Regions from separate parts of the Homo sapiens genome. Here all the other regions are linked to region 3. The links are contacts of gene promoters, found by promoter capture Hi-C in blood cells and fetal thymus (Javierre and others, 2016). All regions are on one chromosome and are shown on one strand. The core of a region is centred on a gene start or on the middle of the fragment in contact, and the rest is flanking DNA. Distances in the headings are between cores, read along the strand shown.

Region 1 (6,626 bases), core at 1,320-3,819, 170 kb before region 3:
AAGACCTCCAATCTACATTACAATATTAGTGAATAAACATACATTTATATATCTTATATTAAAATAAAATGTTTAAGGTATGCACATACTGTTTTCTATGGTTCTTTGCCTTAACATCTGTTTTGAGTAATAGACCAACTTTTACTGGTTATGATTGTGTTTATAAGAAGTCTTTTACTGTAAGAAGATTAGTGAAGACAAATCAGATATGGGCTCCACATGGCCCCAGCTGATGTGGGCAGGTGCCTCTAGGAGAGCCGAGGAAGCTCATCTAAGGAACGTGTCTAGGAAGTAGCCATTGTGATCTACAGATCATATTCTCTTATTGCAAGTTCCTATTTTACCAGTTATTGGGTGAATTCCTAAAATTCAGTGGACTGCATCAACCAAGGTTTTGGAGCCCTATTTTGAGTATAATGCAATTTGACATATTATAATGACACTGCCCTTTGGTGCCTGTCACCAAAAGGATTCCTTTGTTGTTCCAATGGTCAGATCCTGTGAAGACTGAGAGTGAATATGTATTTGCACACATACTCACACAGATCAACACACGTGCTTATATTCAGTTAAGCAAATATTCAGCAAGCCTGCTGTATGCCAAGTGCTGGGCTGTGAGTCATAAGCCCCCAAGAGATTGCCTGATATGATTATTGCCCCTAAGTAACCTGGGGATGTACCTGGAGGAGTCACATATCACCAGCTAAGACAGATGGGCTAACAGAGGCCACTGTGAAGGACAAGAGGAGTGGGAGAGAACCCCAGTAGGAAAAGCAGCATAAACAAGTAGGGTGATGTTGCAAAGGGATTGTACAACTCAATGAGTATAATGACTTCGAGAATAATTTACTTTCAGATTACTTTTACTTAGGTTTGTCTGATTTTATGCTCAAAATAATTCCAGGAAGTAAAAAGGCCTGTATATTGCCAACTAATACTTGGGGACACAGATGTAGAGGGAAGGTGACTTGCTTCAGTAATGTGGCATCAGAGCTCCCTCCAGGCTTCCCAGTGCCTGGATTGGTGCTCCTGCCACCAGATGGCAGCTTCCTGGCACATTTACCCACCTGCCACGCTAGAGACACTCATTGAAACCCATTCCTTAACTGCTCAGATGAGATTACCTTATTGCCTTATGGTCTGTCCTTCTCAATAAGCCACAACAACTGCCAGCTGACTGAACAGAGGGGCCTCACTGACTTCCATGATTGGCTCAAGTCCCATTCCTGCTGCACTGTGTGGCCAGTGTGTGTGTGTGTGTGTGTGTGTGTGTGTGTGTGTGTGTTGAGGCATGCCTGCTCACCTGGCACGTGGATTGGGATTCCTGCCTTCTGGCCCTATGGGCAGTACCTCAGAACAGCCTCTTCATTCAGTGCCTTCTGAACGGTTCAGGGAAATATTTTTGGCTTATACATTCTGCCCAAGCCCAGGCAAGCTCAGCAGGGCCCCAGAATAGCACTTTGCCTTTTACTAGAGAAGGTTGCATTTGCAGAGGTACCATTAACCACCTGGATAAGGGCTCTTACAGCACAGCATGCTTTCTAGCGGGAGCCTGAATCACACTGTCTATATGAATTGAAGTCTCACTCACTGTTCTCCCAACTCAAAACAAAAACTACAAACGTGGAGTAAAGATAAAACATCAGCGTGTTATTTGGCAGCTTTTTGTTTGCACAGGTACACTGTGGAATGTATAAACAACCCCAAGGGAAAGATACAAGGCACATGGTCATTTCTTCATGGTCCATTCATGTATTCAACAAATATTTACTGAGCACCTATTTGGTGCTGGGTGATATACTAAGTATTGGGGATTTCACCTGGAGCAATTATGGCCCTGCCCTTGCAGAGTTCACAGTCTGATGGCGGGATACAGACGTGTCAAGGGATGGTCACAGTGGAGTAGGATAAATGCCATGAGTGCACACTGGAAGCAGGGCAGTGTGCAGTTATGTGGGGTGTGGCTGTTCAAGGGCTGTTGGCTGAAAGGATGAGTAGAGGCTGAAATCCAGCCTATCCTCTACTTCTCAAGACATGTACTGGCTAGAGGCAGGGGAGCCTTTTTGTAACTCACAGAAAGGCTCACAGGGACCAGCAGTGACCCTGATTGGAAAGGCACCTACTCTGGATTTAGCATGGAAGGGAAAGCTTCTTGGAAGGAAACATTTCAATTGAGACTTGAAAGATGACCAAGAATTAGCCAGACAAGGGAAGCAGAGGAGAGGTGGGAAAGAGCATTCTAGGTAGAACCATAATCACCAACACTGAAGATAATGCTTAGCATGTGCCAGGCGCAGAGCTGAGTGCTTTAAAAGATTAATACTTTTAAGAGGAAGTTGCATACGGAACAGCATGGAAGGGCAAGAAAACCTGGCACTTTTGGGAAACTGAAGTGAGTTCATTTTGGGAAGAGCATGGAGTTCAGAGGAGAGAGAGATCGTGAAGACTGGAGTGATGATAATAGCTAGTTAAAATTACTTCACACTTGCTCTATGCTGGGCAACCTTCTGAGTGCTCAGTACATATTGACCCATTTAATCCCCATGACTGTATGAGGTAGATACTATTATTATCCTCATTTTACAGATGAAAATGAGGCTGGGAAGGATTAAGTAACTTGACCTGGGCTACACTGCACAATGTGGGAGAGAGAATCTGCACTCCCCCTGACTGCAGAGTCCAGGCTCTTAATTCCCACACTGCCTCTACGGGAAGAACTCAAGATGAAAATAGGTCTCCAAGGATTGACTCAGCAGAGGAGAAAAGGGAAGGCATTCCAGATGAGGTGACAGATGTCAACATCAACAAAGCAGATTCACACTGAAACTCTGTGAACAAGGAGAGGCTGGCTGCATGGTGCCATCTCTAGTCTTACTTTTTCAGCAACCCTGGGAAAATGAAAATCCTTCCTCCTAAATCATCTCATTCATCTCTAACCACAATCCCATGAAAGTTGAATGTCATATCTCCACTGTAACAATGAAAGAAAACAAAGCTTGGGGACAGTAAATGACTTTTCTCTCAAAAAATAGATCTAGAAGTTTCCTTATTCAGGAAGTTCATTTGTTCTTTTTACCTTCCTTCCTTCATTCATCATCTATTTATTGAACATCTACAATGTGTCAGACACTCAACTAGGCTTGAGAGAGTAAGGAACAGAGTATATTCCCTGACCTCAAGTGAATAGGGTTTTAAGTGATGACAGGTCAGTGTGGGTTTTTAAAACATGTCTGCAAATTCTTTGAGACTCATCTCATTGAAAGATGGAGTTTGTGACTACTCTTGAATCTTGGTTTACCTTCATGATTTGCATGCAGCCAACAGAATGCAGTGGAAGTATGCAGCTTCTGAGGCTAGGTCCAAAAAAATGGCCAGTCAACTATTCCTCACTATGAGGAACACTAGCTGCCAAGAAAGAAGTCCAACTAGCCTGACATAGCCATGCTGGAGAGGCCACGTGTAGGCACTCTGGTGACAGCTCCAGCTGAGCTCCCAGTTGATGGCCAGCATCATCTGTCAGCTGTGGATTGAGCCATCTTGGACGTCCAGACCCATCAAAATTTCAGATGCAGCCCTAGCCAACATCTTACTGTAACTGCACGCAAAACCCCAAGCAAGAACTGCCCAGCCAAGTCTCTTCCACATTCCTGACCCACAAGAGTCTGAGTAAAAAACAATGGTGGTTGTATTACAGATGTAATTTGTTATATAGAAATGATAGCTCTAATCATCAGCCTCCAAGAATTGAAGAAAGCAGCAACTCAGGGGATCCACTAGAGATAGGGCTCAAATCACTAGAGAAGAAATTGCTAGTCTTCAGCAGTGAGCATAAAACCTTCAGCTATCTCCTAGATTTTATTGCAAATTGGTCTTCGGGAAGGAGGGGCGCGGGCAAAAGTAGAGGAGAAAAAGTGAAAATGAGCATTATTTAATAGAGGAGTTTATTTTGCATGTTGCTTTCGGTTTGAGCTCCTCCCCTATATACGCATACCCATGTATACATACACCCACAGACAGCAGGCAGTGCAGGAGCCTGATTAAACAAGGAGTTATGATTGTCCCTAAGGGAGCCTACTGTTCTCAGTCTTCAAGCTGGTAATGAGTAGTGCTATCTGCTTCTGCTTTAGGAGTGATATCCTGATTGAAGTCTGCATTGACTTTAATTCAGGTGTGTCTGTTGAAAGGTTATTGTAGCCGAGAGGGGACAAGGGGGTGTTAGATGTGTAATGGCGGCAGCTGGAAGAGGAAAGCATGCTTCTCAAGGTCCCATCAAGCACTGGCTAGATGAGAGAGAAGCAGGTGAGGAAGGCAATGATGAGGGGCAATGGGCATGGGCTCCTGCATAAAGAGCAGTACCTCTCAGAGACCAGGGTATTCACTTCCTACATTCTGTGTCCTCGCTTTCCCTCTTTGCTGTGAATATGCATGGAAGAAAAAAAACAAGGAAGAGAGATGATGGTGATTAGTAATGTGTTTCAACTATGGCCCTGACCTTATCGGAAAAGAGACAGAGAAGAGTGTAAGGTCTCCTTTCAAATCGGTCTGCCTCTTTGAAGAGCAAATCTCTTCCCCATCTCCAAGGGCTGGCCTTGCTCTCTTCTTAACCCATCAATTATGGTGGAAGTCATATGATTTCACCAGAAATATCTACAGGCAGCTCTTGGGGTTAATTCTGAGAGGTTCCAGGTAAATATTCTTCCTTAATTAATGTTTCTAATTTTTAGTCAGTTTGAAATTAAAGAACTTTACCCATGGGCCATCTGAGATGTTGGCTGTCTGTTCATTCTTGCAGGGACCCACAGGACCATTTTTCAACCTCATTTAACCTGCAAAACAGCTGTTGTAAGAATTGTTGGAGGACCGTCTTCCCCTCAAAGGGGGTGTGAGTGGCAGGAACTGATTAGGATTCAGCGTTGGTATTGCCTGTGGCCTGTCATTTGAGGGAGTGAGTCCCAGGTTCCCACTACAAGGTGACTTACCTCCTATCAGAGCTCCGTCTGGATTTTCAAAGACACCATATCATTGGCACAGACTCATTTATAAGTTGGAGACTGGCTCAATGAGGTGTATCGGGCCTTAAAGTATTTTTACCTGCTCTGCTGTGAAACTCAAATTTTACATGTTTATATCCCTGAAGTTGAGTGAGTAGGCATGGGATGGAGGAGAGAAGGATCCAGACTGGTGGGGCAGGGTCTATTTAGGGAGTAACTAGATCCCAAGATTCTGCTTGACAGGTGCTGGGAACCTGTCTCCCCTCTCAGTTGAGGCAAGGTTCCTGCTGGGGTCAGCAGTTGATTTTCATTCTCTTTGAGACACATTCTCAAGGACTGTTCTCTTAAACCAACCTTTGTTACCATCTTGTTGAATTTAAGTATGGAACCTAAGGACATTTTCAGGACTGCTCCAAGTTCTATGTGGTTTTGAATAAATAGCTATATTTATTTGCTACTAGAGGAGAACTTAGAGATAATTTAGGTTAGCTTCTGCATTTTACAGATGAAGAATTTAGTGCTTTGAGAGATTAAGTGTTTTCCTGAGGTTATACAACTAGTTAGTGACCGAGCTAGGAATAGAACCCAGGTCTCCTGGCTCTCAAATCTGTATTATTTCTATTATACTATATTGCTTTATCTAAAGGAGTACCTGTAAATTGATTTAAAGCAGAGTTTCCAGATAATTCTTCGTTGTGGGGGACATTGTATGACGTTTAGCAGCATCTCTGGCCTCTACCCATTGGGTGCCAGTAGCAACCATTTCTACTGTCCAGTTGTGACAAACAAAAATTTTTTTAGATATGGCCAAGTATTGCATGGGGATAAAATTGCTCCTAGTTGAGCTAACGATTCAAAGTTAGTGCATCTTTAGAGAAGAAATGGGCTTATGTTAACTCCTCCTGGGCATGCATGAGTATACATGCATTTGAGTAACAAGGATATGAGAAGATCTACTTCCTAACTATGGCTATATAGGGTGATGGGAGCTTGAGGGAAGACCATAGCTGCCTCCTCTTTTATTTAAATGCTGAGATTGTGTGCTACCATGTAGAGGAGGAGGGGACAAGGATAGGGCGAGGAAAGAGAGGAAACTAGTAGGATATTTTGTTTTTAATTTGGGGAAGGCAATTGCTGTGAACATTCCTGCCTAAGGACTTGTATTCAGAAGATAAAGAACTTAAAAAAATTAATAAGAAAACAACCCAATTTTAAAAACTGGGCAAAAGCTTTGAACAGATACTTCACCAAAGAAGACATAAAGATGGCAGATATGCATATGAACAGATGCTGAGCATCATTAGTCTTAAGGAAAATGCAAATTAAAACCATAAGGAGGAACCTCTGCATAACTAAGAATGATGAAAAATGTAAAAGACTGACCATGTCAAATGTTGATGAAGATGTCAGGGAACTGGAACTCTCACATAATGCTGGTGGGAATGCAAAATGGTACAGCCAGTTGGAAGACAGTTTGGTAATGTCTTAAAATGTTAAACATACACCTACCATATGATCCAACCATTCTACTTCTAGGTATTTACCCAAGAGAAATGAAAGCATATGTCTGTGAAAGCAAATGCAAGCGCTTGTACATGAACCTTCATAGCAGCTTTAGCTGTAGTAGGCAAAACT
Region 2 (7,025 bases), core at 4,516-7,015, 200 kb before region 3:
CTTTATGATAGAACAATTTATATTTTTTTGAGTATATATCCACTAATGAGATTGCTGGGTTGAATGATATTTCTGTCTTTAGGTCTTTGAGGGATTGCCACACCGTCTTCCATAATAATTAAACTAATTTACAGTCCCATCAACAGTGTATAGTGTTCCTTTTTCTCTGCAACCTTGCCAGCATCTGTTATTTTTTGACTTTTTAGTAATAGCCATTCTGACTGGTGTTAGATGGTATCTCATTGTGGTTTTGATTTGCATTTCTCCGGTCAGTGATATTGAGCTTTTCTTTTTCCATATGTTTGTCCTGCATGTATGTGTTCTTTTGAAAAGTGTCTGTTCATGTCCTTTGCCCACTTTTTAATTGGGCTGTTTGTTTTTTCTCTTGTAAATTTGTTTAAGTTCCTTATAGATGCTGGATATTAGACCTGTGTCAGATGCAGTTTGCAAAAATTTCCTCTCATTCTATAGGTTGTCTGTTTACTTTGTTGATAGTTTCCTTTAGAACAGCACATCTTAAAAGGGATAACACATTGCAGTGTGTTCAGAGGAGAGTTGGAAAGCCTACCCTATTCTATGGGGGTGGTGGAGAAACGGATTTTAATCTGGAGAGGGCAAAACTCAGGTTTTGACAGGGTTTTAAATATCTGAAAGGTTGTCCTGGGGATCTGTATGTGGTCCCAGAAAACCTAACATTGGGAGTCGAAACTCTAGGTGGAAGCTTTATGGAGAGAAATTATGTTTTATATGAAGAAGAAGAATGAATTTCATTTTGGATGGGGTAGCTTTACTGAGTTTTTTTCCTTGACCCTGAAAGCGATATATTCTTATTGCAGAGCATTTGAAGAATAGAGAATAATTTTTTTAAAAAATCAGTGAAACACCTGTAATATCCCTTTTCAGAAGCAGCCACTACTAGCATTTGGCACATTATATTTTAGTATTTTTGTATATTTTATTTTATTTTTACAAAGTTGAAATCATGGTACATAAACAATTTTGAATCTTACATTTGATGTAAAATAAAAGGTGAAACATTTAACCTTACATTTAATAATTTGTAGTAAACATACATTTTAATGGTTTCATAATATTCTATGCTAAAAATATAGTGTGATTTTGTCTAATCATTTCCTCTAATGTGGGCCATTAAGTTTATGTCATAGTTTGTGTTTTTATGGTAAATATTATGAATAAATTTTTGCGTGTGTTTCAGATTATTTCCTTGGGTTAGGTTCCTAGAAATGATTTTGTCAGGTTAAAGTATATGAACAATTTAAACTGTTGAGATATATATGTATATATAGTTTTACAGAAATGTTATACCTGTTTACATTTTGTATCAACTAAGATGCTTTTTCTTCAAATGATGAGGAAACTTAACTTCAACTGGCTTGAATGAAAAGGAACTATATTGGCTTAGATATCTGGAAATAAAATATATGGCTGGAGCTTAGCTTCAGGTATGCTTGGATACAGGGGCTCAACTGATGCCTGTAGGTCTGTTTCCTTTCTCCCCATCAGTAAGAGTGTTGGCTACTAAGAGCCACTGTTTTTGGCAGCCTTTTTTGGTGATTGTGTGTGTCGGCGGGAGGGGTGTGCTGTATTTGTGCCTTGAGTTAGGGTAGTGTCTTCATGACTGGGACAGACAGCCTGAATCATCTAGAGAGGCTATCAGAGGAACCTGCTCATTTCTTTGGTCTCATTAGATCTGGTTTTGCTGACATAAAAAAGGCTGTTTTTTTCCCTATGAAATCTCTTATTAGATGAAGGAGGTAGATTATAAATAAAGCTTTAAGAGGTTGTTCATTGATCCAACTCTCCATTGCTATGCTTGTCCGTCTGTCTGTTCATTCCTCTATTCAGGTGATGTAGTGCAGTGAGCCTTGGATAGGAGTTAAAGGATGTGATGTGGATTTTCATCCAGATTCCACTACTGGTCTGTGCTCTAATTGCATTGGCCAAAGCAGAGCTGGGATTAGGAAGCAGGGAACAGCTTTTCCCCCAGCACACATCTACAAAGTATCTACTTTTTAGCAATTTTCAAAAGGCGAGATGTCAACATTATGATGAAAAGTCATTAGAAGAAGGAGTGTGGGAATCACACAGGAAAGATAATCAAAGGGTGTAGCACCTTTAAAAAAATTGATTTGCAGACTCCATCCCAAGATTACCCACCATGACTTTAGAACTTGACTTTGCCTCTGCTGTCTGAGTATTTCCCTATTACTTAAAGGGGCTAATCCCAGTTCTGCCACTCTTAGGGAATCACAAGAAGTGATAATGCATGTGATGTAGATGATGTTTTAAATGTTGGGCACCTAGGGCATAAAAGCAAGCTCCACCTTGCTTCTGAAAGGGGTTATCACATCCCATCCCATCCAGCAGGGCCCCAGAGGATTTGGTCTTTTTCCTCTTTGGTCAAGAAGGCCAGATGGAAGTTTGATAGGATATTAAAGAAGCACCAAGGGTCAGCCCATAAAGATCTGAAGTTCAAGAAATGCATGCCATCAATACAGATTTTTCTTAGTACCCATTGCCACCACAGGCCCCCTTCAGCCTAGGCTTAGATTTAGCAGGCTCGCCTTACTGTCCTCACACCCATCCTCCACAGTATGGCCAGAGTGCTCTTTCAAAAAATTCAAGTCTTGTTAGTGCGTGCCCATTTGTGCTGCTTCAACCCTGCAATAGTTCATCCATGCTCTGGGGACAATACAAACTCCTTTACATAGCCCAAAAGGGCACAAGCAAATGACCTGGCCTGGTTGACTTCACTTTGTGTTTCCCCTTCTTTCTCTGCTGCCCTACATTACAGCTGGGCTTCTTTCAGCAACACCGTGCTCTCACTTGCCTTTGGGCCTTCTCATTTCTCCACGATGCTCTCCCATCCCAAAGCTTTAGGTCATCTTACAGGTTTCCGCTTACATGTCACTTCTTCCTATTTTTGTCAGTCTTTTGGTTGGGGGACCAAATAGATAGTCACTGATGGTGGAGTGAATTAAAATGGCTCACATTTTTGTTGCCTCTGTGTGGGCAGGTGATGACTGGGGATTGAACCTCACCTTGCTGCCTAAGTGCAGCGAATGGCCAGCCAGTGTCAGAGTGGTGTGGTCACTCCGAACACAGTTCACAGTTAGAGCTGGGAAGAGGGTGTTCTGTGTCCTCTTGTTCCTTTGGCATCATCCCATGTATGTCTGCCTTGTATATTTCCTGTGTTAGTGCCTCTTGTCATATAGTGTGGAGTCCTAGCTTTTGATCAGTGCAGCTGCTGCCAGCTGTTTGCGTAGTTTTCAAAATGGAACGGAACAGAGAAATGTGTATGTCTAGCTTAGACATTCTGAATTCCTAGAAATCATTATGAATCTGAATCACTGGGTTGGTGTTGCTGCAATTATCTGAAGACTGTACGTGCACATGTGTGGCTGTGGGTGCTTGTGTGGGATGTGAATGGATGGTGATTTGTTTATAGGGGTAGGACTAGGGGACTTTGAGAGGAAGCTACTAAAATGTATCCTAGATTTTTGCTGAATTGGATAAGAAGATATCCAGGTTCTCTGCACACCAGATATTCATGAGGCTGAGCAACACAAGCCATCTGAACTGTTTTGTAATACTTCATTTAGCACAAAGATATTGCCAGAAATCACACTGCTAATCAGTTGGTCCTGGAGAGAAAGCAAAACTGATGCCTAGCTTCTTGATAAATGAGTATGTGAAAAGAAGCCCTGTGAACCCCAGATGGGAAGTTGGTTCCTGATATTCATACATTTATTGAGCAAACATTTATTGATTACTGTGCGTCAGGCATGTGTGAGCCTGAATACATATCACTCCTTTCTTCTCTCAGGTTCAGGATCAGTTTAAGCTTTACTTTAAAAGTGTTTAAGATGAAATCTTGCATTTGTTTTAGATGGTCTGGATGTTTAGCTAATGGGGAGTGGAGCTCCCCTGTGCCTCTTGATTGCAAGACAAAGCATTAAACATGAGCTTGGCTCTCTTTCCCCAGTTGCCATACCACTTTTTTTCCTTGGTAGAGGGTGACAATTAAGTGAATGGGGATCAAAGAAAGCACAACTTAAGATGCTTCTTGAAAATGGGATTCAAAGTTAGAGTTTTCCTTCTTTCTAAATACCACTCTAATATTCTCGTCTTCATGCCTTTCCATCTTTCATCCAGAATAATGTAATGGTTTTTCCGGGGAGTATTCCGGTGTCATCACTATTGGATCTTTTTACTAAGGAAGTCTTTGGAGGTATGTTAAAAGGGTGATTCTCAGTTTGGGAATTGTAGCTGTCTTGCTGTAGATCAGGCCTGTTATAATTCCCAGCTTGGTGTGTGAGCCATCAAGCAAAATTCTGAACCCTGTAGACCTTGTTCCATGAGTAGGATGGGGCTTTTGGGGTTTTTAGTGGCTCTTCGATAGCCTAAACATTTGCTATCTGGCCTTACACAGAAAAAGTTTGGCAGCCTCTGAAGTTGGCTGAGCCTTGTTATACTGCTACTCTTTGATGGTGTAAGGAGTCACAGAGGTCTATGTCTGTTTGACCCACCTCTCAGCAAAGCAGTCATTTATACTGTTCAAATGAAGACCATTTTGTGAGGGACCTGGGCATCATCTTTTCACATTTGGAAAGGCAAAACAGTAGCATAAAACCTTTTAGAGAATGTTATCCGGTAACTGGAAAACTCAAAAGAACAGGGAAAAGAGGAAAATGTGTGTGGAGCAGGGAGTAATGTTCAGCAAGTGGCTGAAATAGCATAAAGGGATTTTTACTCCAGGGAGCTCTGGAAAGGAAAATGGACTGGGGCATTTCAAATCTATTTCTCTCTTAAAAAAAAAAAAGTAGCAAAGTTTTTTATTCTCTTGTTTCTGAGTTTGTAGATTTGACTCTATGGGTTAGTCGGATCTGTGAGAGGATGGGAAGACCCTATAATCTAGTTCAGGAGTTGGCAAGCTACATCTGCAAGTCAAATCTGTGTCTTCCCTTCCTGTGTTTATAAATAAAGTTTTATTTGACACACAGCCACACACATTTGTCTCTGGCTGCCTTGGCAGAGTTGAGTAGCTGTGATAGAGACAGTCTGTCCTGAAAAGCCTAAATATTTGCTATCCAGCCTTGTGCTGAAATAGTTTGTCAACCTCTGAAGTTAGGTAAGCCTTGTTATCATAAGATAAGGGGATTGTGAGTTTTTGTATCACAGGAATTTTTTTGTTAATATACAAGTAGGCATTCTTGATGATCATTTGCAAATTAAGTAGGAAAGGAGAGTGAAAATCACCTATTGCAAAGGGGCCATGCAGTGTGGCTGGCACATGATATTGTTACCAGACAAGCCAGAAGACCTTGTAGTGTGACCATGGGCAATTCATTTTACCTCATTGAGCCTCGATCTCTTTGAGTGTAAAATGGAGATAAGGTGACTTGTTTCTCAAAACGTGGTTGCTTGGATCCAATGAAATAAAGCCACGAGGGCATCCTATAAATGGTAAGAGGGCTGTATAAATAGAAGGAATTAACCAGCACCCATTTGTGCTGTTGCAGCTGCTGCAGATACGTGCCTTGTAAAATTACCCTATTATTTAGAGACCGAGAAATATTTGGATAGTGGTAATGTGCTGCTCTGAGAAAAGCAGTCGCCAGTGGGATTTTTATCACATAATTAGAGGGTTTGTTAAATGTGCTAGTGAAAAGAAGCTGTTTGCTGCTGCCTTGTTTTAACATGGACCAGGGATCCTGAGCCTTCTCCCTGAGGAGATTCTATACCAGCATCCTTGCTCCAGTCTCTTTTGTGGTGCTGGCTTCTGGCCAGCAGAAATTCTGGGAAGTTCTAGACGTAGTGCCAGAGGCACAGTGGCCTTAGAAACCCTTGTAAAATCACCGTCTACCCACGCGACACCTCCGCTTTAGACAGCTAGGTGCTGATAGCCACTGTGTGTGTAAGAGCCCTGAGGGGTGGGGCAAGCTGGAACCCAAGGAACAGCAGGCATCAGAAAGAGCCCAGGTTAGTGTGGGAACAGCAGAGCTGTTCGAGCTGGTTCTTTGCTGACTTATTGGTTTATTTATTCATTCAGCCAGTCAGTTTCCTCATTTTAGAAGTGGTAATACCAGGTACTTTACAGGGTTGTGGTCAAGGATTGAATGAGATAATGCAAGTAAAGTTGTTAAGCAAACAATCTGGCAGGGAGCAAATGTTCATTAAATAGTAGTTCCTGGTTGGTGTAGTGTATTCTTGGTTATCATATAGCTTTGGGATTTTGAATTGGTAAATATTCATGATGTGTGAAAAATCATGATACATACTGTACGGTCTCAGTCCCATAAAATTGGATGTTGTGCCTATACACACACAGGATCTAGAAGAACATGTCAAACTATAAACTGCTTGTGATTGTGAATGACTGTGTTCTTTGCTTCTTGTGTTTCTCAGTTTCTTATAATGCACATATTAACTTTTTTAAAAATAAAGTTTATTTTAAAAGCCTGAAAAAAATAGTAATTCCTGATTTAATTTTATTGTCTTTTTCTAATTATTTCATATTCATGAAATACATACCCTGCGCTAGGCACTGGGGAGTATCTGTAGATGGGAGATGAAGGTATGTAGACTGTGGTCAGGCTTGGCTTCTGCCAGCTGGCTATGATGCGGGAGGACCAGCAGTGAGCATGCTTCTTGGGTTTCTCACGGTGAGTCTGGGGATGCTATTGGAGCCCCTCAGCTCAGCCCTTTCACCTGGCAGGGGCCTCCCAGCCTGCCTATTCCAATCTTACCTGCCCTCCAAGACCAAGCTCAGGACCCATCTGTTTTCTAATTAATGCTGGCCTACAGTTGCCACACTTTTCTCAGAATCTTGAAGCACTTACACACCCAATTTAACTCTGGATCACATCCCACCTTGTCTTTTTATAATTGTTTCATGTAGCCTTGAGAGAAGAGACATGTCTTATTCATCTTTAATTCTTAAGTGCCTACAAAGTTCCTGACACATACATATCCTCAATAAATATTGAATTGGATGAATTCTA
Region 3 (6,746 bases), core at 1,603-4,102:
CATTTCCCAGCTTCATTGTGTTCTCCACGTCAAATTGAAGTTCCTAAATTCACCAGTCTTTTCACTTCCCTGCTCAGAAACCATCCATGTTTCCCTGTTATCTATAGAACCATTCTTTTAAAACTCCATGATCTTATCCCACCCTCCTTTTCCAAAAGCTGGTTTCCAAACTACATTTTAGGAACCTTGTATGTAAATCCTTTAAAATATCCCACTTCTAGACTCCTGTTCCTACCTCCTCCCCTTCCTAAAATGCCCTCCATCCCATTTACATGTAAGCAGATCTTTTCCACTCTTTGTTTATTTTATTTGAGATGGAGAGTCTTTCTCTGTCTCTCAGGCTGGAGTATAATGGCGCGATCTCGGCTCACTGCAACCTCTGCCTCCTGGGTTCAAGCGATTCTCATGCCTCAGCCTCCCAAGTAGCTGGGATACAACTGCACCCACCATGCCTGGCTAATTTTTGTATTTTTAGTAGATGGGGGTTTCATTATGTTGGCCAGGCTGGTCTTGAACTCCTGACCTCAGTGATCAGCCCACCTCAGCCTCCCAAATTGCTAGGATTACAGGCATGAGCCACCGCGCCTGGCCAATATATATTTTTCTTTAAATGGTACTGTTGGATGTAGATATGAGAGAAATAGCCTGTATCTCCAGTACCATTTAAAGAAAGAAATATGTCCCTGTGTATTCTATTAGTAATGACAATCACTTTTGTCTATAATCAGACTTCTGAGCCTATTCCAAGGCCCATTTGTGTACTTCCTTGTAAAATCCAGTTTTAGCAAAGAACCCTACTAAGTCAGTTTGGCAAGGACCCCTCACCCTAGCTATCTGATCACTGTTGGATTCTGATCAGATTCCTCATCCTCCACCATCCCCCAGGCAACATCTGATCACCCGGGCCTGTCTTCAGCTACAATTCTGTTAGGCTGGTTTAGCCAGAATCCACTTTACCCCTGATGTTTCCTCCGAGTAATTTTCTGTCTACCGACAGCCACACTGCTCCTTGGCCATAAATTCCCACTTGTCCATGCTGGATTCAGAGTTGAGTCCAGTCTCTTTTCTGTGCCGCAAGAGCTCATTGCAGTGGTCCCTGTACCTTTGTGATGATCCTGAATAAAGTCTTCCCAACCATAATTTAACAAGTGACATTGAGTAATTTTTTTCTTTAACAAGAGACATTTGGATTTTAATTTCTGTTACAGGTATAATAAAAGGTTCAGTGGTCCCTACTTTACAAAGAGGAACATACATAAAGATAGGAGGTTTCTAGTGATTTCTGTTCAGGATTGCTTTCTAAACTGGGCATAAACAAGTTCCTTCAGCTAGGTCTCTTTGATACTGTGGCCTGGAATTTGTTTTTCTTTTTCTTTTTTTTTTTTTTTTTGAGATGGAGTTTTGCTCTTGTTGCCCAGGCTGGAGTGCAATGGCACAATCTCAGCTCACTGCAACCTCCACCACCCGGGTTCAAGTGATTCTCCTGCCTCAGCCTCCCAAATAGCTGGGATTACAAGCATACGCCACCACACCTGGCTAATTTTGTATTTTTAGTAGAGACGGGGTTTCTTCGTGTTGGTCAGGCTGGTCTCGAACTCCCGACCTCAGGTGATTCACCTGCCTCCGCTTCCCAAAGTGCTGGGATTACAGGAGTGAGCCACTGTGCCCAGCCACTCTTTTTTCTTTTTTTTGGACAGAGTCTCACTCTATTGCCCAGGCTGGAGTGCAGTGGTGCAATCTCAGCTCACTGCAGCCTCTGCCTCCTGGGTTCAAGTGATTCTCCTGTCTCAGCCTCTCAAGTAGCCAGTATTACAGGCACACGCCACCACACCAGGTTAATTTTTGTATTTTTGGTAGAGATGGGGTTTTGCCGTGTTGGCCAGGCTGGTCTCAAACTCCTGACCTCAAGTGATTCACCTGCCTCAGCCTCCCAAAGTGTTGGGATTACAGGCATGAGCCACCATGCCCAGCCTGGAATTTCATGTTTAACTTAGACTCTGGAAATTCCAAATGAGTTTTAACACAAACAAATTATTTGAGAAATTCAGGTCTCTGTTTCTTTACCTATGAAATGGTGACTGCTTATGCTTGCCTTGATAGACTACTAGGATGAAAGGAAATGACGAATATTGAAGTCCTTCACAAATCTAACAAAATGTGAAATATGATTGTATTTATAGTTTACGTATTGCAAGCAGATGCTGCAGAATAAGTGTTTCAGATTGAAATTTCTTGAAGAACCCCTAGCCTTTTCCATACCAAATAAACAGATCTCTGGAGGACAGGACCTCTGACATTTGTACCTTCTTTCCATCCCTCTGTACCCCTGTACTTCCTGCAGCCCTTCCCTTCACCACCACCATGTCCCTCCTGCTGCTGCAGAGTCTGCTTGCAGGGCCTTTACACCAGGGAGAGCAGGCAGATGGAGGAGCATGGACAGATACATTCCTCTCCTGGCAGTGTCCATTACTTCTCATTCTACTCATTGAGACTCCAAAGTCAGAGTGAAATACTGAGGGATATGAATTCCTGTACTGTGTGGCAGCCATTGCCACATTCAACATACGATGTCAGATGTGTGCAAGATGAGGCTACTCACGAGACACAGAGGCACAGGACTCCTGGTATCGACTCGCTGTCTCTTAAAAGAAAGTTGCCATCCACCCCTTCCTTGAGCAGCAAGGTCTCACAGTCTTGCTTGGTCAGACGTCCATGGTAGTAAGGCAGATCCATGGAGAACGCTCTTGTATCCCAGGAAGCCCTGTTGGCCTGAAATTCACCCCCAAGTCAAGGGACAGCTCTGAGGAGAGATGTGTAAGCAGCTGTACCTCCTGTGGAGCTACCTCTTCCTCTAGCGGTCTGTGGGACTCAGCCAGCTTCACAAGATTCAGGAAATGAGGAGGGCGGGGTGATAAAATGACCAACACTTTTCACCCTCTAAATGGCCCACATGTGACTCACAGAAGTAGGTAAAGCACATTTAAACACACAATGGAATCAGTGATGCTCATGGCTAGGGAGGCAATGCTGAAGTCAAGCTTCCTGGAACTGTGTTGCAGCCTTGTATATTACCATGGACTATCATCAACTTCTTTGGCTACTGGTATCCTTTCCAGGAAGCACACCGCTGCTTTTGCTGTAATGGTACCCATTTTCTGCTGAAGTTGCCTAGGATTGGGCTATGCTTAGCTTAGACTGGGTGCTCAAAAACCATTTGGATGCTGAGAGAATTGATATGCTCAGATACAATGGGAAAATTGAAAGGGTGGGATTTCCGTGGATCAAATGACACTAAAAATGGAAGACATTAATGGCAATAAAAAACAGTGGGACACTGTGGATGAGGACAGCCCATTCCATGGCTAAGGCTCCCAGCCACTGGTGAAAAAAGGCCATTTGAACACCCTCAAGCATTGTTCCTTTTGGAGAAAGGGCTGGTGTAGGTGGGAGGGATATCTGGGTATACTCATATATCTACAGAAAATCACTATATATATCTCAAAAATGTTATCTATGAAAATAGAACTATGTGCTAACGATTCATCTTTACTTCTCTTAACTTCTTCTTTTTTTTGTTTTCTTCATCTCCGTAGTACCTGGAGATCTTAACTTCTTCTTAACCTAGATGTTTATTTCACCTTGCTACTTTGCTTACCAGCTGTTTACTCACAGTTGGGTGTATCTTCTATGGAACTTCCTTGTAACAGATCTTTGTTCTTCCTTGGAATTCCCACTCTGCATTTGGCATAGTGCAGTTTCACTGATCAGGGAACTCGTTATCAGACAGATATGCTCTCAAATAGCAACTTTTCTTCTGTGGTTTTGGACAATTCATTATTCAATTCTCTGGAAACTATGGCAGTTGAAGACAGAGTTGTTAATAATGAAAGAAGAAATTTGGTATTTCTTGTGAATAAATTCACAATCGTGGTGTAAAGATGCTTTTTGACATAAGAGAGGAAATAACTGAAAGCATGCTCAGGCTCTTGGTCATCACAGGGGCTTCCTTGCCCTTTTTGCTGTTTCAAAATCCAACCCTCACAATAAAAGAAATGCAAATTACCTGCATGCTGAGATAACAACTCTCACCTATCATATGGGTGAAAATCAAAAGTTTGAAAGCTTATTGGGTTGGTCATGGTGAAAGAAAATAGAATATCTTGTATATCATTAGTTGGAATAAAAAATAGTTACAACTATAGTAAAAGATGGTTTGGCAATATCTTGCAAATTTATGTATGCCTTCACCATCTGATAGAACAATCTCAGTTCTAGAAATCTGTCACAAAACTACACAGGCAGAATTAGAAAATGACTTGTGAATAAGGTAGTATTTTTTAATAGAAAAAGATTACAAACAACTCAAAGACTTGTGAATAGAGGGACAGGTGAATAAACTGTGATTCATGTATACAATGGAATATTACTATAGAATAATAAAATGGGATTGAGGAAGATCTCTATATGCTGATATGCAATAATCTTCAGGATGTATTTTTAGGTGAAAGCAGCAAGATGCACAATAGTATATAGAGTATGGGGGATATAAATAAATATATACATTTATAATATTTGCTCATATTTAAAAAACAAACGAAACACCCACTGGAAGAACAAAACTAAAACTAATTAAAACTAAAAACTTCTGCCTCTAAGAGGAGAGCGGAAACATGCATAGAGGTGAGACTTCTCTCAGTAAAACTTGCTGTAGAGTTGTTGGTTTTTTGTTTTGTTTTGTTTTGAGACAGAATCTCACTCTGTTACCCAGTCTGGAGTGCAGTGGTGTGATCTCGGCTTACTGCAACCTCTGCCTCCCTGGTTCAAGCAATTCTCCCACATCAGCCTCCCAAGTAGCTGGGACTACAGGCACGTGCCACCATGACTAGCTAATTTTTGTATTTTTAGTAGAGACAGGGTTTCACCATGTGGCCCAGGCTGGTCTCAAACTCCTCACTTCAAGTGATCTGCCTGCCTCGGCCTCCCAAAGTGCTGGGATTACAGATGTGACCCACTGCGCCCAGCCTGCTGTGGAGTTTTGAATGTAGAATCATGTAATTGTTTTTTTGTTTTGTTTTGTTTTGTTTTGAGACAGAGTCTCACTCTGTCGCTCAGGCTGGAGTGCAGTGGTGCGATCTCGGCTCACTGCAAGCTCTGCCTCCTGGGTTCATGCCATTCTCTTGCCTCAGCCTCCCGAATAGCTGGGACTACAGGCCCCTGCCACCACGCCCAGCTAATTTTTTGTATTTTTAGTAGAGACGGGGTTTCACCATGTTAGTCAGGATGGTCCCAATCTCCTGACCTCGTGATCCACCCACCTCGGCCTCCCAAAGTGCTGGGATTACAGGCGTGAGCCACAGCGCCCGGCCATAATTGTTTTACACATTGAAAATAAACAAGTAAAAGGGTATTCCTAAAAGGAGGAATAAAAACTAAAATAATGTATCTAACTGAACATTACTTTGGTAATATAATCATAAAGAAAATTATTTCAACTGACTTTAGAATGTAGAATTTGAGTGAACAGTTTTAATTAAATATCTTGTACATTAAATAAACTAGCAAATAAATTTAGTGATAATTTGGTGTAATTTAAATATATTTAACTCATATTATAAGATAAACAAAAATCATACTGATATTAACATTTTAAGAACTAAGTAAGGTAAACAACTGTACCAGTTTGCTTATGTCTGAGGGGTTTCCCAGTATCTACGACTTTCAGTGTTAAAGACAGATGAGTCCTGGGAAAATTCTAGAATCAAGATTTTTTTTCAGTATAAGAAAAGAGATACACATATAAAAGCAAAGAAGTTAAATAAAATTTTTGATGCTAAATTTGAATTGGAAATATCAGCATGGATTTACAACTTGCTTTTCAACAAAAGGCCTAAAACAGGGGCCAGCAAACTTTTTCTTAGGCATTGCAGGCAATAGTCTCTGTTGCAACCATTCATCTCTGCCATTGTAGTGTAAAAGCAGCACTATGGGCTGTAGTTTGCCAATCCCTAGCTAAAACAATGAAAACTTGGTAGCAATGAGCACACCTAGGGATAAGGCTATGGTCTCTAAATACCACTTCTCCTATAAAAGAAGCAAGAACTTTTTAGAGAAATGGCTGAATTCATGCCAGGGACATATAAGTGTGTCAGTGAAGACTGAGTCATGTCAAAGGACATAAGACCCAATATGGAAAAATTTAAGTATCAAAGGAATAATGATTGTGGTTGATCAAAATACGTTGAATTTATATTATCCAGTAAAAGATCAACCTTGCCCAAATATAGATGTAGCCCTTTGTCCTAGCTCCTTGGAGAAAAGCTTTAAGCTCTTGGAATCCAGTGTATGGGACATTCAGTAGAACAAATAATGTGGTGTCTTCATAGGTTGTAAAAACTGAGTCAGATAGTTGGGTGAGAACTGCTCTAGGTTAAAAAGATGGTTATGCAGCATGAAACCAATGCTAGATGACATCTTGTTTGGATCTTGGCTTGAAAAAACCAAATACCAAAAATTTAGTGCTGGGGGAAATTTAAGTATTGATTTGATATTAGATAGTGCGTGTAGCAATGGCATTATGCTTTTGTGAATATAACTTTTAGAGATACGTATTGAAGTGTTATGTCTGATACTGGGTGATTGTGTGTGTGGTTCATTATATTAATGTCTCTTTTTGCATGTGTTGTAAAGTTTTAATAGTAAAAATATCTTTCCATTCCCATATTATTCTGATCCCATGTCACCTTTAA
Region 4 (6,703 bases), core at 2,246-4,745, 230 kb before region 3:
TAAAAATTTTAATCCAGGAGGTGATATGGGGGAGGAGGGTGGATTATGTGATTTGGAATAGCCCTGGAGTCAGGGCTTAGCTGAGCCCCAAGGATTACGCCATTGTGTTAATTAGGAACTTAACCCTGATTCCTGAAAGCAGTTTTCACGTGACTTTGGTGTGGCAGTAAAGGCCAGTAAACCAGAGTGTTTGTTACACAGAGTGATTCGTCCTGTGTGACTCAGGAGAGAGGCCGGCCCACGCATGGCCCTTTCAGATCTTTGGGGTGAGTTGTGGTGGTGTCTGTTTTGCCAGGTAGGTCAGCTGCGGAGTCTTTCAGCCACTGGCATGAAGGGAACCAGCCATGGGTCTGGGGTCAGTGTAGCTCAGTCTCCTGGTTTTCCCACACTTCAGTTTGCGGGGCAGCTCTCTGACCTGTAGTTATATACTGAGTTTGCCTACTCTTTTTATTTACTTATTTATTTTGAAGTTTATATTAATTTATTTAAACATTTTTAACTAAATGATGTGATTTTTCTATTTTTTAAAAAAGTAGTAAACATTATTTTTAGAGTAATTTTAGCAAAATTGAATGGAAAGTTTGGGGATCCCATATATTCCTGCCCCTGCACATGCACAATGTCCCCCACTTTAAACATTCCACACCAGAATGGCACATTGGTTACAACTGATGAACCTACATTGACACATCATTATCACTCAGAGTTCATAATTGACATGAGGGTTCATTCTTGGTGTTGTGCATTCTGTGGGTTTGGACGAGTGTTTAATGACATGTATCTACCATTATAGTTTCATACAGAATAGTTTCACTGCCATAAAAATCCTCTGTCCCCTGCTTATTCATGCCTTCCTCCTCCTAACCTCTAGCAAACACTGATCTTTTTACTGTCTATAATTTTGCCTTTTCCAGAATGTCATATAGTTGGAATCATACAGTAGGTATGAATGGCTTTTTAGATTGGTTTCTTTCACTTAGTAGTATGCATTTAAGATTCCTCTAGGTCTTATTATGGCTCGATAGCTCATTTTTTTTAGTGCTGATTAATATGCCATTGTCTGGATACACCACAGTTGATTTATTCATTCACCTACTGAAGGACATTTTGGCTGCTTCCAAGGTTTGGAATTATGAATAAAGCTGCCAAGAACATCTGTGAGCAGCTTTTTGTGTGGACATAAGTTTTCATTCCATTTGAATAAAGGTGAAAGACTGTGACTGCTGAATGATGTGCTTGCTAAGAGTATGATTAGTTTTGTATTATTTTATTTAAAAATATGTTTACTGAGTATGTGCCATACACCAAACATGGTGCTAGTTGCTAATATATTATTTAATAATCCTTTTAGCAACCCTATGAAGTAGGGCCTTCCACTTTATAGGTGAGGAGACTCAGGCACAGGAGGGCTAGGTAGCTAGTAAGTGACAGCTGGCACTTACACTCATCCCTCCTGATGCCAGAGCTTTTCCCACTGCGTCATGCCGTCTCTGGAGACCAGCATATAACAGAAGGTGGCATCCACCCAGCTAGAAAGGGCTCATCCAGAAGCACCTCGTTCAGCTCACCAGGGTTGCCCGTCAGTTTATGAACAGTGGAAGAAAAAGGTTTCTTTCTCTGTGTGAAAGTTGTAGCCTTGCCTAGGTGCTCTTATACTTCCTGGATGCTCAGCCTATGCTGGCCTATTTAGATTTAAACTGTTTTCATTCCGAGCATTGTCAAACATACACCAAAGTAAAAAGACTAGTTTAGTCCGTCTTATACCTATCACTCAGGTCCTGGAATTACCAGGATTTTATCATTCTTGCTTTATTTGTTTGTGGGGTTTTTTGGTGGGGGTTGAGGGGGGTGGTGCTGGTGGTTATGTATACTGTTTCTTTTTTGGCTGAAAAATTTTGATAACAGTTTTGTCATTAGCTCATCTCCTGGACCTGTGTGGCATCTCTCCTTTCTTTGCATGAATTTCCTACCATTGTGTATCTCGTAGTTACTGGGTATTTATTTTATGTAACAAATGTTTATATAGTCTTAATCATATGTTACACCCTTTTTTAGTTCCTTAACAAATATTAGCTTGTTTACACCTCATAAAAATCTTACGAAATAGATATGAAAACGATTCTTCTTTTAGAGGTGGTAAAACCAAGGCACAGGGAAGTTGAGTAACCTGCCCTGAGTTACACAGCTAGGAAGCCGGCTAGCTGGCTTTCAAATGCAGGCTGTGGGGTTTTATAATCTGTGTTCTTATTTGTCATGCTGTGCTAGATAAACAACAATTCTACAGCCATTGCCAGTCTGTTCTCTGGTACTGCTAAAGACAGAGGAAGGAAAAAGCTAGTTCTTGCCTGCAGATGCATCCAGTCTGTTGGGAAGACGGACCTGGAAACCAGCATTTGGGGTAAATGCTGCAGCGATTATGCAAAAACAATTCAGTGAGAATGTAAAGAAACATTATGTGAAGCTTCTTGAGAAAGTCCAAGCAGGCTTCACAGAGGCTGTGATCCTTGAACTCAGATCCAGAAGGGTGGATGAGTGGGGAGGGAAATCCTGGACCTAGAGGTGAGAGAGCACAGGGAGGGCTGGAGAGAGATGGACTTGACAGTGGATTTCTCAGGCAATAAGATCATGAAGGCGCTGACTTGCCTGCTAAAAAGCTTTGACCTCATCCTGCTGGTAGTAGTGACCTATTGGTAGATTTTTAGCAGAGAATAAATATGGTGAGGTTTGCAGATTACTAAGCTCTCTCTAGAGGTGATGCAGAGGATGGATTGGGAGGAGAAAAGGCCGGACACCATTTATTAGTGCTGGCTGCTGGCAAGAATGTAGGGGCCTAAACTGGAGCCATGACAGTGGGAATGGAGAGCCTGGATCTGAGAGGTGAGGACCAGCATTATGCAGGTGTTCATTATCTGGATTTCTGAATGATATGTTACCTAGGAAAGCAACAGTGATCATAACATCCAAATATTCACCAATGAAGCCATCACTTACAGAAACAATCCCTGTGGCAAATGCACCCGGTGACCTCCAATGTGCCAGGCCCTTGTGTAGCCTCCTCCATGATGTGTTATTTTATTTTTATTTATTTATTTTATTTATTTATTTTTTGAGACAGAGTGTCGCTCTGTCGCCCAGGCTGGAGTGCAGTGGCGCTATCTCTGCTGACTGCAAGCTCCGCCTCCCGGGTTCACGCCGTTCTTCTGCCTCAGCCTTCTGAGTAGCTGGGACCACAGGCGCCCGCCACCACGGCCAGCTAATTTTTTGTATTTTTAGTAGAGGCGCGCTTTCACCGTGTTAGCCAGGATGGTCTCGATCTCCTGACCTTGTGATCCGCCTGCCTCAGCCTCCCAAAGTGCTGGGATTATAGGCATGAGCCACCGCGCCCGGCCAATGTGTTACGTTATTTAAGACCCCATTTTAGCAGCCTGGAGCGGGACCTTCTGCATGTGAGAGGCACATGTGGAAAGGGACTACAGGAGCCTCTTGGAGCGGAGCATGGCCCTCAGCTGACAGCCAGCAAGAAAGTGGAGCCTCAGTCCTGTAGCTGCCGGGAACTCAGTTCTGCCAACGACAACGTGAGCTTGGGAGATGACCCATGAGCTTCAGAAAGGAACACAGCCTGGTTGACACCATGGTTGCAGCTTTGCAAGACTCTCAGCAGAGGACCCATGTAAGCTGTATTCAGACTCCTGACCCAGGGAAACTGGGAGATACTAAATGTGTGTTGCTTTAAGCCTTGAAGTTTGTGGCCATTATTATGCAGCAAGTAGAAAACTAAAACATTCCCTGTTCAGTCATCCTCCCCTTAACAGCAGCATCTATTCTCAGCTATCCTCAAGGTCTATCAGCCAGCATTCTGCTTTCAGATCTGGCAGTACAGTGCAATTTCCATGCAAATGTATTTCAAAGTGAAATTGCAAGTCTTGCAAAAGATGTAGGATTATAGGTAGTCAATAAAAGGATTGCTGGAGAACTGCTCAAACAACTTAACAGACAAAAGAGGACTGGGCAGGGTTAGACCCACTCATAATTGGTGAGAAAAACAATCAGTATGCTGACAAGAAACTGACTTCAAAGGAGAAGGATTTGAATATCTTTGAATATTAAGACACACCTTTGAGAAAATGAAAGCTCTTAAATAATTTCTGCAAAAATTATGCTCTGTATAGTAATGTCATGAAAGTCAGAGATGTAGTAAAGGATGTCATGTTATTATGTAGTGATGTTGGAAAAAAATTACAACAATAAATCAATAACTCAGTCTAGCCTAAGAATTAATGCAAAATTCAATATGATCTAAATATTTCACATTTTAAATAAGGTTTTACATTTTAGATAAGCTTATTTGCATAATTTTTACTTCATTTTGAAAGATTAATTCTGTCAGCTCTTATTTTTTCACTATTGTGAAGTTCTGGTTCTTATTTTTAAGGGCTTTTCTAGTACCAGCTGCCCCCTGGATAACAGTTATCAAGGGCCTTTTGAATTAGGGGGTGATGTTGACATGAACTGCTCACTGGAGTGGATGCTTCCTGATGGCCAGGAATGAGGGGATTGATTTGGGCACTTCCTTTGTAGGATGGAGCCCAAAATGCCCAATTTATTTCATTCATGGCTTCACAAGCCATCAGTATCTCAGATGCTCAAAGATTTTTGTTCAGTACTCTCCTTGTATCAGACAGGAAACATGGTAGACCACTGAGTATGGTCTGAGTTGATTTCAAGTGTATGCAACATCTTTTCTGGGGATGACCTAAGAAGGCCAGCTTTATGAAGGACTCTGGAGAATTCCTGGATAGAGTTGAAAAAAGTCCCACTTGACATTTGCATTGGGCTTGTATTTTTCACAGTGCTTCTATTTACATTGTTATTTTAATCCTCAGAGCTGTACAGTGAGATGGTCAGAGAGCCATCTTCCTTCTTCATGTACTAGAGGAGGAAGCCAGGGTCTGGAGAGATTTGAACACAAAGTCACATGGCTTTTTACTCAGAGGCCCAGAAAGAGGTAGATTATTACAATAATTGTTACGACAGTCATCATTTACAGTGTCTGCTTCCTGACAGTCACTGTGCAGGGTACTTTCATACATAATGTCATTGAACCTTATAATCGGTCACAATACTGTCAAGTTGGTACAGGCATACCTTGGAGATACTGCGGGTTTGGTTCCAGGCCACTGCAATAAAACGAGTATCTCAATAAAGTGAGTCACACAAATATTTTGGTTCCAAGTGCATATAAAAACAAGGTACACTTGATGTTGATGGCTACTGACTGACCAGGGTGCTGGATGCTGAAGGTAGAGGTGGCTGTGTCAATTTCTTAAAATAAAGCAACAATGAAATTTGCTGCAAGGATTGAGTCTTCCTTTTACCAAATATTTCTCTGTAGCGTGTGACACTATTTGATAGCATTACAGTAGAACTTCTTTCAAAATTAGGGTCAGTCCTCTCAAACTCTGCTGCACTGCTTTATCAACTAAGTTTATCTAAATCTTTGTTGCCATTTCAACAATGTTCATAGCGGGTCTACAGGGAGTATATTCCATCTCAAGAAACCAATTTATTTGCTCATCCCTAAGAAGCAACTCCTCATTCATTAAAATTTTATTATGAAATTGTAGCCATTCAGTCACATCTTCAGGCTCCACTTCTCATCGTAGTTCTCTTGCTATTTCTGTTACATGTGCAGTTACTTCCTCCACTGGAGTCTGAACCCCTCAAAGTCATCCTGGAGAACTGGAATTCACTTCTTCCAAGCTCCTGTTGATGTTGATGTTTTGACCTCCTTCCATGAATCATGAATGTTCTAATGGCATCCAGAATGATTAATCTTTTCCAGAAGGTTTTCAATTTGCTTTGTTTGGGTCCTTCAGAGGAGTCACTATCTATGGCAGCTGTAGCCTTACACAATATATTTCTTAAATAATAAGACTTGAAAGTTAAAATGACTGCTGATCCATGGGCAGCAGAATGGATGGTGTGTTAACAGGCATGAAAACAACATTCATCCCCTTGAACATCTCCATCAGAGATCTTGGGTAACCAGGTGCATTGTTAATGACAGTAATATTTTGAAAGAAATATATTTCTGAGCAGTAGGTTTCAACAGGGGGCTTAAAATATTCAGTAAACCATGCTGTAAAGAGATGGGCTGTCATGCCGTCTTTGTTGTTCCGTTTATAGAGAACATGCAGACTTGATTTACCACAATTCTTAAGGACCCCAGGACTTTCAAAATAGTAAATGAGCACTGGCTTTAACTTAAAGTCACCAGCTGTATCACTAGCTGTCCTTTGAAGCTTTGAAACCAGTTATTGATTTCTCTTCTCTAGCTATGAAAGTCCCAGATGGCCTCTTCTTCCAATAGATGGCTCTTCCATTCACATTGAAAATCTGTTGTTTAGTGTAGCCACCTTCATCAATGATCTTAACTAGATCTCCTGGATAACTTGCTGCAGCTTCTGAATCAGCACTTGCTACTTCACCTTCCATTTTTATGTTACAGAGACAGCTTCTTTCCTTTAACCTCATGAACCAACCTCTGCTAACTTCGAACTTTTCTTCTGCAGCTTCGTTCCCTCTCTCAGCCTTTATAGAATTGAAGAGTTAGAGCCTTGCTCTGGATTAGGCTTTGGCTTAGGAGAATGTTGTGGCTGGTTTGATTTGTCTATCTAGACTGTCCAAACTTTTTCCATATCAG

What was found. The method cuts DNA at HindIII sites, captures the fragments that hold promoters and counts their contacts. A CHiCAGO score of 5 or more calls a contact.
Region 1: a contact is called between a fragment that was not itself captured here and the fragment with the promoter of SH2D1B in region 3, in 1 of 17 cell types (M1 macrophages). The highest score is 5.7, in M1 macrophages.
Region 2: a fragment that was not itself captured here is called in contact with the fragment with the promoter of SH2D1B in region 3 in 1 of 17 cell types (M1 macrophages); the score reaches 5.7 in M1 macrophages.
Region 4: a contact is called between a fragment that was not itself captured here and the fragment with the promoter of SH2D1B in region 3, in 1 of 17 cell types (M1 macrophages). The highest score is 6.0, in M1 macrophages.

Annotation. Positions count from the first base shown.
Region 1 is chr1:162,239,000-162,245,625 of GRCh38, forward strand. All of the region lies in intron 2 of NOS1AP (nitric oxide synthase 1 adaptor protein), which reads left to right. Among named protein-coding and RNA genes, the nearest start is that of MIR4654, 85 kb to the left of the region's middle. The HindIII fragment of the contact is 847 bases long and covers 2,147-2,993 here.
Region 2 is chr1:162,201,426-162,208,450 of GRCh38, forward strand. All of the region lies in intron 2 of NOS1AP (nitric oxide synthase 1 adaptor protein), which reads left to right. Among named protein-coding and RNA genes, the nearest start is that of MIR4654, 48 kb to the left of the region's middle. The HindIII fragment of the contact is 3,804 bases long and covers 3,864-7,025 here.
Region 3 is chr1:162,409,284-162,416,029 of GRCh38, forward strand. It overlaps SH2D1B (SH2 domain containing 1B), which reads right to left and starts at 2,853. Exons shown (of 4, transcript NM_053282.5): 1 at 2,600-2,853. The coding sequence starts at 2,733. The HindIII fragment of the contact is 13,514 bases long and covers 1-3,036 here.
Region 4 is chr1:162,177,155-162,183,857 of GRCh38, forward strand. All of the region lies in intron 2 of NOS1AP (nitric oxide synthase 1 adaptor protein), which reads left to right. Among named protein-coding and RNA genes, the nearest start is that of MIR4654, 23 kb to the left of the region's middle. RefSeq lists an enhancer at 3,290-3,820. The HindIII fragment of the contact is 1,686 bases long and covers 2,653-4,338 here.